3 separate regions of the Homo sapiens genome follow, and all the other regions are linked to region 3. Evidence: promoter capture Hi-C in 16 types of primary human blood cells and fetal thymus (Javierre and others, 2016). All regions are on one chromosome and are shown on one strand. The core of a region is centred on a gene start or on the middle of the fragment in contact, and the rest is flanking DNA. Distances in the headings are between cores, read along the strand shown.

Evidence for each region. The method cuts DNA at HindIII sites, captures the fragments that hold promoters and counts their contacts. A CHiCAGO score of 5 or more calls a contact.
Region 1: a fragment that was not itself captured here is called in contact with the fragment with the promoter of RPS26 in region 3 in 1 of 17 cell types (megakaryocytes); the score reaches 5.2 in megakaryocytes.
Region 2: a contact is called between a fragment that was not itself captured here and the fragment with the promoter of RPS26 in region 3, in 13 of 17 cell types (endothelial precursors, M2 macrophages, megakaryocytes and 10 more). The highest score is 12.0, in endothelial precursors.

The regions. Positions count from the first base shown.
Region 1 is chr12:55,883,833-55,887,669 of GRCh38, forward strand. No RefSeq gene overlaps it. Among named protein-coding and RNA genes, the nearest start is that of PYM1, 42 kb to the right of the region's middle. The HindIII fragment of the contact is 830 bases long and covers 1,638-2,467 here.
Region 2 is chr12:55,793,354-55,797,449 of GRCh38, forward strand. It overlaps SARNP (SAP domain containing ribonucleoprotein), which reads right to left. Exons shown (of 11, transcript NM_033082.4): 5 at 2,672-2,723; 6 at 1,454-1,527; 7 at 1,006-1,034. Among named protein-coding and RNA genes, the nearest start is that of SARNP, 22 kb to the right of the region's middle. The HindIII fragment of the contact is 2,580 bases long and covers 348-2,927 here.
Region 3 is chr12:56,040,668-56,044,629 of GRCh38, forward strand. RPS26 (ribosomal protein S26) reads left to right here and starts at 1,251. Exons shown (of 4, transcript NM_001029.5): 1 at 1,251-1,502; 2 at 1,758-1,935; 3 at 2,696-2,826; 4 at 3,452-3,962. The coding sequence starts at 1,500. The coding sequence ends at 3,487. RefSeq lists enhancers at 972-1,761, 1,210-1,539, 1,680-1,939 and a silencer at 1,000-1,059. The HindIII fragment of the contact is 3,314 bases long and covers 337-3,650 here.

The DNA.
Region 1 (3,837 bases), core at 803-3,302, 160 kb before region 3:
AGCCTGATGTCTTCAATCTTTCTAGCGGTATAACTCACTCCCTGTATTAGTCCATTTTGCATTGCTATAACGGAATACCTAAGACTGGGTAATTTACAAAGAAAGGAGGTTAATTTGACTCACGGCCCTGCAGGCAGTACAAATATGGCACCAGTGAGGTCTTCCGAAGCTTTTACTCATGGCAGAAGGTGACGGGAGCAGTCGTGTCACATGGCGAGAGAGGAAGCAAGAGAGATTCCAGGCTCTTTTAAATAACCGGCTTTTGTGTGAGCTAATAGAGTGAGAACTCATTCATTACCATGGGGAGGGCACCAAGCCATTCATGAGGGATCTGCCCGCATGACCCAAACACCCACCTCCAGCCTCCAACATTGAAGGTCACATTTCAACATGAGATTTGGAGGGGACACACATCTAAACCAGGTCACTCCCCTAGTCCCAATTTCCATGCTGTGATAAGTTGAAAAATGTTCCCTGAAAAAAGATCTTAACTTCCTAATCCCTACAACCTGTAAACAATGCCTTATATGGCAAAAAAAAAAAAAAAAAAAAAGGTTGGGGGGCGGGGGGTGTCTTTGCAGATGTGATTAAGTTCAGGATCTTGAGATTATATTACTCTAGATTATGTGGCTGGGCCCCAAATACAATCACCTGTATCCTCATGAGAGAGAGAGAGATTTCACACACAAAGAGAGAAGACAATGTGAAGGAAGATAAAGGCAGGGATTGGAGTGATGCTGTCACAAACCAAGAAATGCTGGCAACTACCAGAAGCTGGAAAAGGCAAGGATTAGATTCTCCCCTATAGCCCCTGGGGAGGGAGAGTGCAGCCTTGTCAACACCTTGATTTTTCTTTCCTTTTTTTTTTTTCTGAGATAGAGTTTCACTCTTGTTGCCCAGGCTGGAGTGCAATGGTGCAAACTTGGCTCACTGCAACCTGTACCTCCTGGATTCAAATGATTCTCCTGCCTCAGCCTCCCAAGTAACTGGGATTACAGGCATGCACCACACACCCAGCTAATTTTGTATTTTTAGTAGAGATGGGATTTCACCACGTTGGTCAGGCTGGTCTCGAACTCCTGACCTCAGGTGATCCACCGGCCTCCCAAAGTGCTGGGATTACAGGTGTGAGCCACCGCACCTGGCTTTTTTTTCTTTTTCTGAGACAGGGTCTCGCTCTGCCACCCAGGCTGGAGTGCTGTGGCACAGTCATAGCTCACTGCAGCCTCCACCCCCTGGGCTCAATCGATCCTCCTAACTCACCCTCCCTAGTACTAGTAGCTCCCTAGTTGCTGGGACTACAGGCATGCACCACCATGCCTGGCCGACACCTTTGCTTTGATCCAGTGATACTGACTTTGGACTTCTAGCCTCTAGTACTTTGAGAGAATACATTTCTGCTATTTTAAGCCACCAAGTTGTGGTAATTTGTTATAGCAGTCACAGGAAACTAATATGCATACTCACCAAGTAACCTTCTGAATATAATTTGGTGAACCAAGGAGCAATGTTTGTGGGCAGTGAGAGTGCTGGTTGTGCTGACTCAAGTGTTCTATTCCTCATGGTAGGTTTGGTTTGTATAAAATGATAAACTGACATTCTAATTTATATGTTCTAGTTTATAAATCAGCCTTGTAAGCTTGACTAATATGGGTCTATCCTCAAGAATTGGATCTACTGTCTGTGCTGACAAAACCAGATGTCTGTAGGGATATTGGCAAGATCCAGACCATGGTCAACACATCAGGAAAAGAAATACTATTTTGTTGAGGTATCTTGAGAAGTACATACCTGGTTTCTCCTCATTTTCCATGATCTTACCATCAGTTCTCTATTTCAAAACTTCATCAATAATAACTAACTTTAGGCTGGGCATGATGGCTCATGCCTGTAACTCCAACACTTTGGGAAGCCCAGGCAGGAGGACCACCTGAAGCCAGAAGTTCACAACCAGCCTGGGCAATATAGCAAGACCCTGTCTCTACAAATAAAATTTAAAAATCAGCCCAGGCATTGTGGTGCATGCCTGTAGTCCTAGCTACTTGGGTGGCTGAGGTGAGAGGATTGCTTGAGCACAGTAGGTGGAAGTTGCAGTGAGCTGAGATCACGCCACGGCACTCCAGCCCAGGAGACAGAGGGAGACTCTGTCTCAAAAAGAAAAAAAAAAAAGAACTGAGATTTGAACCCGGTATTCTGAGAGCAAACCCTGGGAACTAGATTTGTTCAAAAAACAAACAGCTATATTATGTTTCATTATACACTAGGTACCAAGAATCATGGATTTAGAAATGGATAAGACTAGTCATTTCTACAGCCATGAGGAGCTCCTAACCTAGTAGGAATAAATAGAAATAATTCGCTGAATTTGCCTTTGTATTTTAGTGTTTGAGGATTGTTACAGCCTGCACTTTATTATCTGAAACACTATTGTTAGATAAGGCATTGTTTTTACAACCCATTTAAAACAAGCTTGTCACTCAAGGAGAGGAACTCCAGGCAGAAGGAATTCATATCAGGTTGGGCACTGTGGCTCACACCTGTAATCCCAGCACTTTGGGAGGCCAAGGCAGGTGGATCGCCTGAGGTAAGGAGTTCAAAACCAGCCTGGCTAACATGGTGAAACCCCATTTCTACTAAAAATGCAAAAAATTATCCGGGCATGGTGGCGCCTGCCTGTAATCCCAGCTACTCGGGAGGCTGAGGCAGGAGAATCTCTTGAACCCAGGAGGCAGAGGTTGCAGTGAGCTAAGTTCACGCCATTGCATTCCAGTTTGGGCAACAAGAGCGAAACTCCATCTCAAAACAACAACGACAACAACAACAAAATTAATCAGGCCTGGTGGTGCGTGCCTGTAATCCCAGCTACTTGGGAGGCTGAGGCAGGAGGAGGAGGAGGTTGCAGTGAGCTGAGATCACGCCACTGCGCTCTACCCTAGGCGACAAGAGCAAGATCCATCTCAAAAAAAAAATTATCCTTTTACAACATAGTTCTTTATTTTTTTTTCTAATCTATCTTCAGATAGAATAGTGGGTTTTGGGGTTTTTTTTGGTGGCTATATGGCATTTTATTGTATATCATATTATATTTCACCAGTGGTCTGTTTGGGGACATTAAAATTGAATTCTTTGTTTTTGTTTTGTTTTGTTCCATTTTGTTTTGTAAAACTACTCTTTAAAAATCCATATGACTAAATCTTTACACATCTCATTTTTTCCTTAGGAAAAATTCTTAGTATAATTACTGTGTCAAAGAAAATGTACCATCTTAGCTCTCTCGTTTTTAATTTTTTCCTTATTTTTTAATTGTGATAAAATATACATAACATAAAATGTACCATTTTAACCATCTTTTTGTCTGTGTGTGAGACTGAGTCTCACTCTGTCACCCAGGCTGGGTATAGTGACATACTTGTAGCTCACTGCAGTCTTGATCTTCTGGGGTCAAGCATTCCTCTCACCCCAGCCTCCTGAGTAGCTAGGACTACAGGCATGCACCACCATGCCTAGCTAATTTTTTAATGTTTTTATAGAAATGGGTTCTTGCTATATTACCCAGGCTGGTCTCAAACTCCTGACCTCAAGCAATCCTCCTGCCTCAGCCTCCCAAAGTGCTGGGAAAACAGGCATGAGCCACCACACTTGGCCATTTTAACTGTATTTAAGTGTATAATGCAGTGGCATTAAGTACATTCACAATGTGTTGTAACCATCACACGATTTCTAGAACTCTTCAATTATCCCAAACAAAAACTCTATATCCATAAAGCAATAACTCTCAATTCTCCCTCCTAGTCCTTGGCAACCGCTATTCTACTTATATCTATGAATACATCTATT
Region 2 (4,096 bases), core at 388-2,887, 250 kb before region 3:
GACAAGCAAAAAGAAATAAATCATTCAAAATTCCACCAACCAGAGATAAGAGTATTAACAATTTAGAATACAGTCGTCCCTCCATTTCCTCAGGGGATTGGATCCAAACCCACCCCTCCAGCTGATACCAAAATCCACCACACTCAAGTCCTGCAGCAGATATAAGCTGCTCCTCCATATCTGCAGGTTTCACATCCCAAGAATACTGTATTTCTGAACCGCATTTGGTTATGGTGAACCCTCAGATACAGACAGCAAACTGTATTTATTGAAAAAAAAAAAAATCCAAGTATAAGTGGACCTGTGCAGTTCAAACCTTGCTGAAGTGTCTACTATGTATCCTTCCAAGCTTTTTTCCTATCTATACATGCACTCTTACATGACTAAAATGGGAACGTACTGTTAATATAATTTTGTAACTTTTTTCATTAATATCTCTGATAAATATCTTTCAATATTATTTCAGCACAGTAGTCTGCTATACCATGGCACACATTTAATAACTAATTCTCTGTTGTACAGTTGGTTGTTTCCAGTTATTGATCACTATAAATAATGCTGTGATAATCCCTGAGGCTAAGTCTTTATGCACATTCAAGACTATTTCCTTATACGTTCCTAGAAGTAAAACTGTTAAGGTAGAAGATATTCTTTTCCCTTTTATCACTTATAATAGCCAGTATAACACTAGATAGTATGCAATAATTTTATGCAGTTGAGACCCCAGAATAAGTAAGCAAAGTACTAGAGAAACTTCTTTGAAGATGTTCAAGAAAAGACAGACAAATGTTGGCACTTCCTATCCTCTCATAACATTCAGTATCTCTCTTAATTGCCCAGGAAGGCCTAAGTATAATTTTACCTAAAGCAGGAGATGAATGTTACAATCTCTTAAAGAGTTTCTACAGCTAGCAAATTTACCTTATTTTGGAGAAATAAAACCTGTTATACCAGAAAAGAAAGAATAAAAAGGTAACTTTCTCAGAAGTATCTCTGTACTCTTACCTTTTGTTGGAACTGAAGAAATCCCAAACCTGAAGAAGGAAAAACAAACTAAATTTTAGGAAGCTGTTCACACTCCTGGTTTGTCTGTCTCCGTGTCAAGTATACATATGACACTTCTTGCTTGTGATCTCAAGCCTTGCAATCATTAGCTAATTCTAACAACCCCATGAAAGAGGTTCAGAAATTAAGCTAAAAGGAAGCCTTATCAGAATTAGTAGTAGTCAGTTCCTGGCTTTAACTGTTACAAAAACCCTTCTCAATAAAGCTCAATTTATAGCTACTATAACCAAATCAGTAGACATGTTCTGAATAGGGTCAAAAAAGTGTTCATATCCTTCAGCAAGCCTCTATTCTACTTAAAATCAACAATTATACCTAAAAGCTAGGATCACACATCTTCATCTTTACAACACCCCTATCAGAGGCCCAAAAGGCTGGGGACACTCACCTAGCTGCCCGAGCAGCTTTCTTACTCTCCAAGCTCACAGGTACATTGAATCGTTCAGCCCTCTTCTGCATTCTCTAAGTAAAAATAGACAAAAGGGAGAAAAAAAAGTCAATTTATGGTTTAAGAAAGTCAGTCAGAGGTAGGTATCTTTAAAAAAAAAAAAAAAAAAAAAAAAAAGAGTCTCACTCTGTCCCCCAGCCTGGAGTGCAGTGGCATGATCTCGGCTCACTGCAACCTCAGCCTCCTGGGTTCGAGCGATTCTCGTGGCTCAGCCTCCTGAGTAGCTGGGATTACAGGACTGTGCCACTGTGCCCAGCTAATTTTTGTGCTTTTAGTAGAAATGAGATTTCACCATGATGGCCAGGCTGATATTGAACTCCTGGCCTCAAGTGAACTGCCCACCTCAGCCTCCTAAACTGCTGGGATTACAAGCGTGAGCCACCTGGCCCAGCCAAAGGTAGGTATCTTAAAAACATCAGAAGTAATTTCTTAGGGTCTAAACTGAAAATACTGACAATCCTAGAAGATATCAGGTTGTGTCCATGCTAGGACTTAACGGCCCTTCCCACAAAGCAAACAAAAAAAGACTATTACTAGATGCCCTCAAAAACAAAAGGGAGAAATAAAGTAAAACCTACATTATGCATGAAGCCAAGAAGTCAAAAGCTATGTTTGGCTGACCTTTGAAAAGTGATCAAAGGAATAGCTTGGTTCCAACACCAATGGTATTCTTTCAGTTAGAAATGAGGCAGCATTGTTTTATGCCATTCTAAAAGAGTTTAATAATTCTCTACTTTGCAAGTATGATACTGAACACAAGATCTCAAATGGAACCTGGTTTCACAGTCCTGCACCACAGAAACCAGAGAAATTTCAATCTCAGCTACTGGCCAGTAGCAACATAAGAGTCACATCTACCAATACATTTTCAAGGTACAATCCTCCTAAATCTAATCCTAGGTTTGAAAACATCTCAAAGAGAGTCACTGTTAAGACCATAATATTACATATAAAAAGACTACAACTTCAAGAATGACTACCCCTACGCCAGCCAAATATTTTCCAAAGAGTAGCTGGCAGTGAAACGTATCAACACCAAAATCTGCCAATACTGATTTTCTGCCTGTGAATAAATTTTAGAGGATGATGCAGATATAATAAAGGGTAAGAGGGAGAGAGAAATGTAGAGACTGTTCTACTAGGGAGCAGAATACCTACCTCAGTCTGTGGTATTTCAGATGTAATTTTCACCACTTTCTTCTCTGCTGCCCTAGAAAAGAAAGAGATTTTTTAAAATGAGAAAACTGATATTCTAAACCACAACCTCAGAAATGTGTAAGAATTCACCTGAGTCACCATTCTCTGCCCTATTATCTCTCTGCCACCCCCTAAGCCAAAGAAACATGAAGTCCACTAGAGCTTTGGTTCCTTTAACTGTCATCTATTGAGAGGAAAGAGTTCAAATAACAAACTAAGCTTCTTTAGCTAAAGTATAATAAAGAAATAAGGAAAGAAGTCTGGTTAAATATACTGGGCTGAAGGGAAACACTCAAAGGACACCAGAAACCATCTCATTTGCTTTTAGGAACTTTTCAATTTACTTTTATTTTTCTGAGACGGAGTTTTGCTCTTGTCGCCCAGGCTGGAGTGCAATGGCACGATCTCAGCTCACTGCAACCTCCACCTCCTGGGTTCAAGAGATTCTCCTGCCTCAACCTCCTGAGTAGCTGGAATTACAGGCACCTGCCACCACGCCGAGCTAATTTTTGTATTTTTAGTAGAGATAGGGTTTCACCATGTTGGCCAGGCTAGTCACGAACTCCTGGCCTCAAGTGATCCACCCACCTCGGCCTCCCAAAGTACTGGGATTACAGGCATCAGCCACCGAGCCCAGCCTTTAATTTACTTTTGAACTAATGAGTAACCCTCCAATCCTCCTTTAAGTACCACCTCCCAATGTTCATCACAACAATTAATAAGTACTCTACAAGGTCTGGTTTCCTTCTTTTAAAAATCCCTTATTTCTCCCATGGGGAATGTAGCTCTAGCTGGAACAGTCAAAGTGAAACAAATAAAAATGCCAAAGAAGGTAGGAAGAAAAAAGTCTAAGGGGAGTTTGAATTAGGAAAACATGGTAAGCTAGTGGTCAAAGGTTTAAGAGGAAACAAAAGAGGGGGGACCACAGGGGCGGGAGACAAAGTTCGGAAGTACCCACGATAAATGGAAGGGCATTAACCCTCCACCAAACAACTCCCATAAAACTGTGGGTCATAACCAGTCTCATTAAGGTCCCTCATTTAGAGACATGGGCAGCTTTTGTTCCAATATCCTGAACACTTTTCCCATTTGATGCCCTGAAAGGTAGTAATGGTTTAATGACATTTTCAGAGGAAGCAATTCTGGAATAAGAACTTACTCTCTTCCACCCTTTTATTGGAAATCCCTGGACTGAAGACAAGCAATGGGTGCCCCCTGCTGACTATAACGAAGTCCTACGATATGTAACCGCTTTAGCTGGTTGGGGGTTGGGAATCAAACTAGAAACAGGTATATTTTTGGAGAACTTCAGGCCAAACATGAAGAAGGGGATCTCCTTTTAAATAGTCAAGGAATCTAAACTAGCCCTGGCTATTCTGACGTTTA
Region 3 (3,962 bases), core at 1-2,500:
TATTTTTAGTAGAGGTGGGGTGTCACTATGTTGACTAGGCTGGTCTTGAACTCCTGACCTCAGGTGATCCGCCTGCCTTGGCCTCCCAAAGTGTTGGGATTACAGGCGTGAGCCACTGCACCCAGCCTAAGGCTTAAGTCTTTCCGATGGCTCTTCAGAGGTAAATGGAGCTTACACATAATCTTTCAATTAGGGGTCAGATTCACTAATGAGTGGTGAAATAATTTTCGTGGTTTTTGATCAGCATTTATTAAAATAGAGAACAGAAAGATTAAGTAAAAATAAAGAATAGAACATACCAGCACACCTATGACAAGGGTAAGTATCGTTTCATAAAGCTTGTGTTTCAGTTTTGCATGTGCATGTAATCGTGTTTGTGTGTGTACTGGGTACCAATGTAAAATGTATTCGTGCTATGAATCTGGGTGAAAAACGTTTAAGTCATTAGTCCAGGCTATTCCTCCATCCATTTGTTAGGTGACATACAGCATAGTACAGCGGAGCCAGAATACCTACTGCACGTCAGTTCTTCAATCTTTTTTTTTAATTGATTTATTTATTTTTGAGACAGAGTTTCGATCTTTTTACCCAGGCTAGAGTGCAGTGGCGCGATCTCGGCTCACTGGAAACTCCGCCTCCCAGGTTCAAGATTCTCCTGTCTTAGCCTCCTGAGTACCTGGGATTACAGGCGCCCACCACCAGGCCGGGCTAAATTCTTCAATCTTTAAAGTGAGGATAATAATAGTAGCTACCTATAGGCTTGCTCAAAGTTAAATGAGTTAATATTTATAAAGACGCTTACCACAGGGCCAGGCACTGTGCCAGAGATAAAAAGATGAATGAGAAATAGCCCCAGCCTCAATGCACTTCATTGTGGGATTTTCTCCATATTGGAAGGAGGGATTCACAAAATGCTTGTTTCCTCTCAGGCCTTCCTCTTCGTAATCCTACACCTACCTAGTAGAAGGACTGTCAGAGAAATGAGCCCAGGGCGTCCCCCGGTGGCGCAGCGCCGCCTTCGGTCTAAGCACTTGGGGCAGGGGGGAAGGGGGGGAGGGGGGAGCCTCTTGGCTTCGCACTACAATTCCCACCAAGCATCTGTCCCTCTCTGGCCTCTAATAACGAGTGCGCCTTGTGGTCCAGCGTCTGGCAACTTTCACGCCTAGCGTCGCGTATACCGGAAAACTGCATCGTCCAGAATTGCTTCCGAGTCGGCGCGGCGCAAGGCTTGCTGGGAGACACATAACCTCGATTTTCTTCCGCCATCCGGCTAAATAGTCCCATGTGCACTTTGTTCCATGGATAAATAAACACTAGGAACGCATTTCCACCCTAGATTTCAGCAGAAATGCTGAATGTAAAGGAATATTTGAGTAAAGTGAGTTGCCGTTCTTGAAGCCCGTCTCCTAAGGATTCTCCCGGTGTCCGCGTAGGGATCTCATGCTATATAGGAGGGCCCTGCCAGGCACCGTCTCCTCTCTCCGGTCCGTGCCTCCAAGATGGTGAGTCTTCTTGCGTGGTGAGGGTGGGGGTTCGGGTGCAGACTCTGGGATTGTGGGGAAGTGAGAGCCTGGAGCACGGCTGAGGGGTGGACCGAGTGTACATTTCATTTGCTCTGGGGGTCGGCGGGATTTGCGGAGAAACAGGAGATCCGAGCGGCGCCTTCCTGGAGGCTGCCGGTGCGGCTTGTGGCCGGAAAGGGACTGAGGCTGGGTGAGTTGCGCCGTTTTCCTAACAGTTTTCCCATCCTGTCGCAGACAAAGAAAAGAAGGAACAATGGTCGTGCCAAAAAGGGCCGCGGCCACGTGCAGCCTATTCGCTGCACTAACTGTGCCCGATGCGTGCCCAAGGACAAGGCCATTAAGAAATTCGTCATTCGAAACATAGTGGAGGCCGCAGCAGTCAGGGACATTTCTGAAGCGAGCGTCTTCGATGGTAAGTGGGTCACCGGCGCGAACTGTGTGAGGATCCCAGTATCTTAAAGCCTTCGCCCAACTTCGCCCTTTTGGAGGCTCTGTTCTTTGGAGCCTCTCAGGCAATTTCCACGTATTTAAGGTTGTTACTGGTAGAAGAGAATTCTCTTGTTTGCCGTTTTGATTCTTTTCTGGGCAGAGGGTGACTTTGTGATAGAGTGCACAGCCTTTACTCTGAGGTAAAGGTTTGCCTGTTTCGGTTATGAGATTGCAAAAACTAGAAACTTGGTAAATTTGACAATTCTTGTGCTATTGATTATTTGAATATTTGTGAAAATATACAGGTGAGGAAGAATGTCTTCAACGTTTCGAGAATGGAGGCCGTCTAGTTTGGTGTGCAAGGATGATGTTTGGAGCAATAAGAACGTCGCTTTGTTTTTTTCCTTTTATAGAAAGAGCAAGGTTCAGGGTAGGCATTAGGGCGGGTGTAGGTGTAGAAGGAACTGGATTATTGGTTTATTGCATTTAGAATGTCAGTCTGGTCCTTGCGGTGTCAAGATGAACTCACGTGGGATGTTAATTCACTTGTAAAACTGAGGGTTATACATATGTGCTCAGGTATTGGGCTGAACAGGTGCTTTGGGGGTGCTTTTATGTGCCCGACAGGCATTTAAATAGGTTTAGTTTTAATTGACGTAAACATGTAAGGTGCTCTTCATTCATGTAACAAAAAAGCAAGGTAGGTATATAATACCAGTATAACTCTATTTTCTATTCCTTAGCCTATGTGCTTCCCAAGCTGTATGTGAAGCTACATTACTGTGTGAGTTGTGCAATTCACAGCAAAGTAGTCAGGAATCGATCTCGTGAAGCCCGCAAGGACCGAACACCCCCACCCCGATTTAGACCTGCGGTGAGTATTTTAAAAGGAGAATGGAAGCCAGGGGAGTGATGGTTAAAATTTCATCCTGGAGGGTCAGGGTGTCCTATACCTGTAACCTCAACACTTTGGGAGGCTGGGACAAGAAGATTGCTAGAAACCAGCAGTTCAAGACCCCATCTCTTCAAAAAATATTGAGAAGGAAGCCAAGCATGATAGTGTGAACCTATAGTCTGGCTGCTCGAGAGGCTGAGGCAGGAGGATCACTTGAGCCCAGGAGTTTGAGGTTGCAGTGAGCTATGATTATACCACTTGCGCTCCAGCCAGGGCAAAAGTGAGACCTTGTCTCTTAAAAAAAAAAAAAAGTTGCTTCCTCCTGTGGTGCAGGGGGTATCAAATTAAGGTCTGTGCCTCAGGTTAAGCTGTAAGGCAGGTGAGACCCACACCTGAACATGCTTAGAGACACTGCAAAGCAGTGTTAGAATCAGAATTGGTTTTTAGGATGCAGAGTAGTGTTCTCCCTCCACCTCTATCAGCTTCCCATGCATTTGTAGCCTGAATACATCAGTTTGTGAGAGGATGGTGGTCAAGTTCTTTGGGGGAAGGGAGTCTTGGATCCATGGGTTTTAATTTACTCTTTTGTTTCTTTGTCTTTCAGGGTGCTGCCCCACGTCCCCCACCAAAGCCCATGTAAGGAGCTGAGTTCTTAAAGACTGAAGACAGGCTATTCTCTGGAGAAAAATAAAATGGAAATTGTACTTAATATTGCATGTTAAGTGTATCTGTGCCAGATAAGGTGGGGATTTTGTGTGTTAGACCAAGTGTGAAGTGACACACATTATTTTCATGGGGAAGAAAGCTTATTCATGTAATTTAATTTTTTTCTTTTTTTTTTTTTTTTTTTTGAGACGGAGTCTTTGTCGCCCAAGCTGAATTGCAGTGGCGTGATCTCAGCTCACTGCAACCTCCGTCTCCCGGGTTCAAGTGATTCTCCTGCCTCAGCTTCTTGAGTAGCTGGGATTACAGGTGTCTGCCACCATGCCTGGTTAATTTTTGTATTTTTGGTAGAGATGGGGTTTCACTATGTTGTCCAGGCTGGTCTTGAACTTCTGACCTCAGTTAATCCACCAGCCTTGGCCTCCCAAAGTGCTGGGATTACAGGCTTGAGC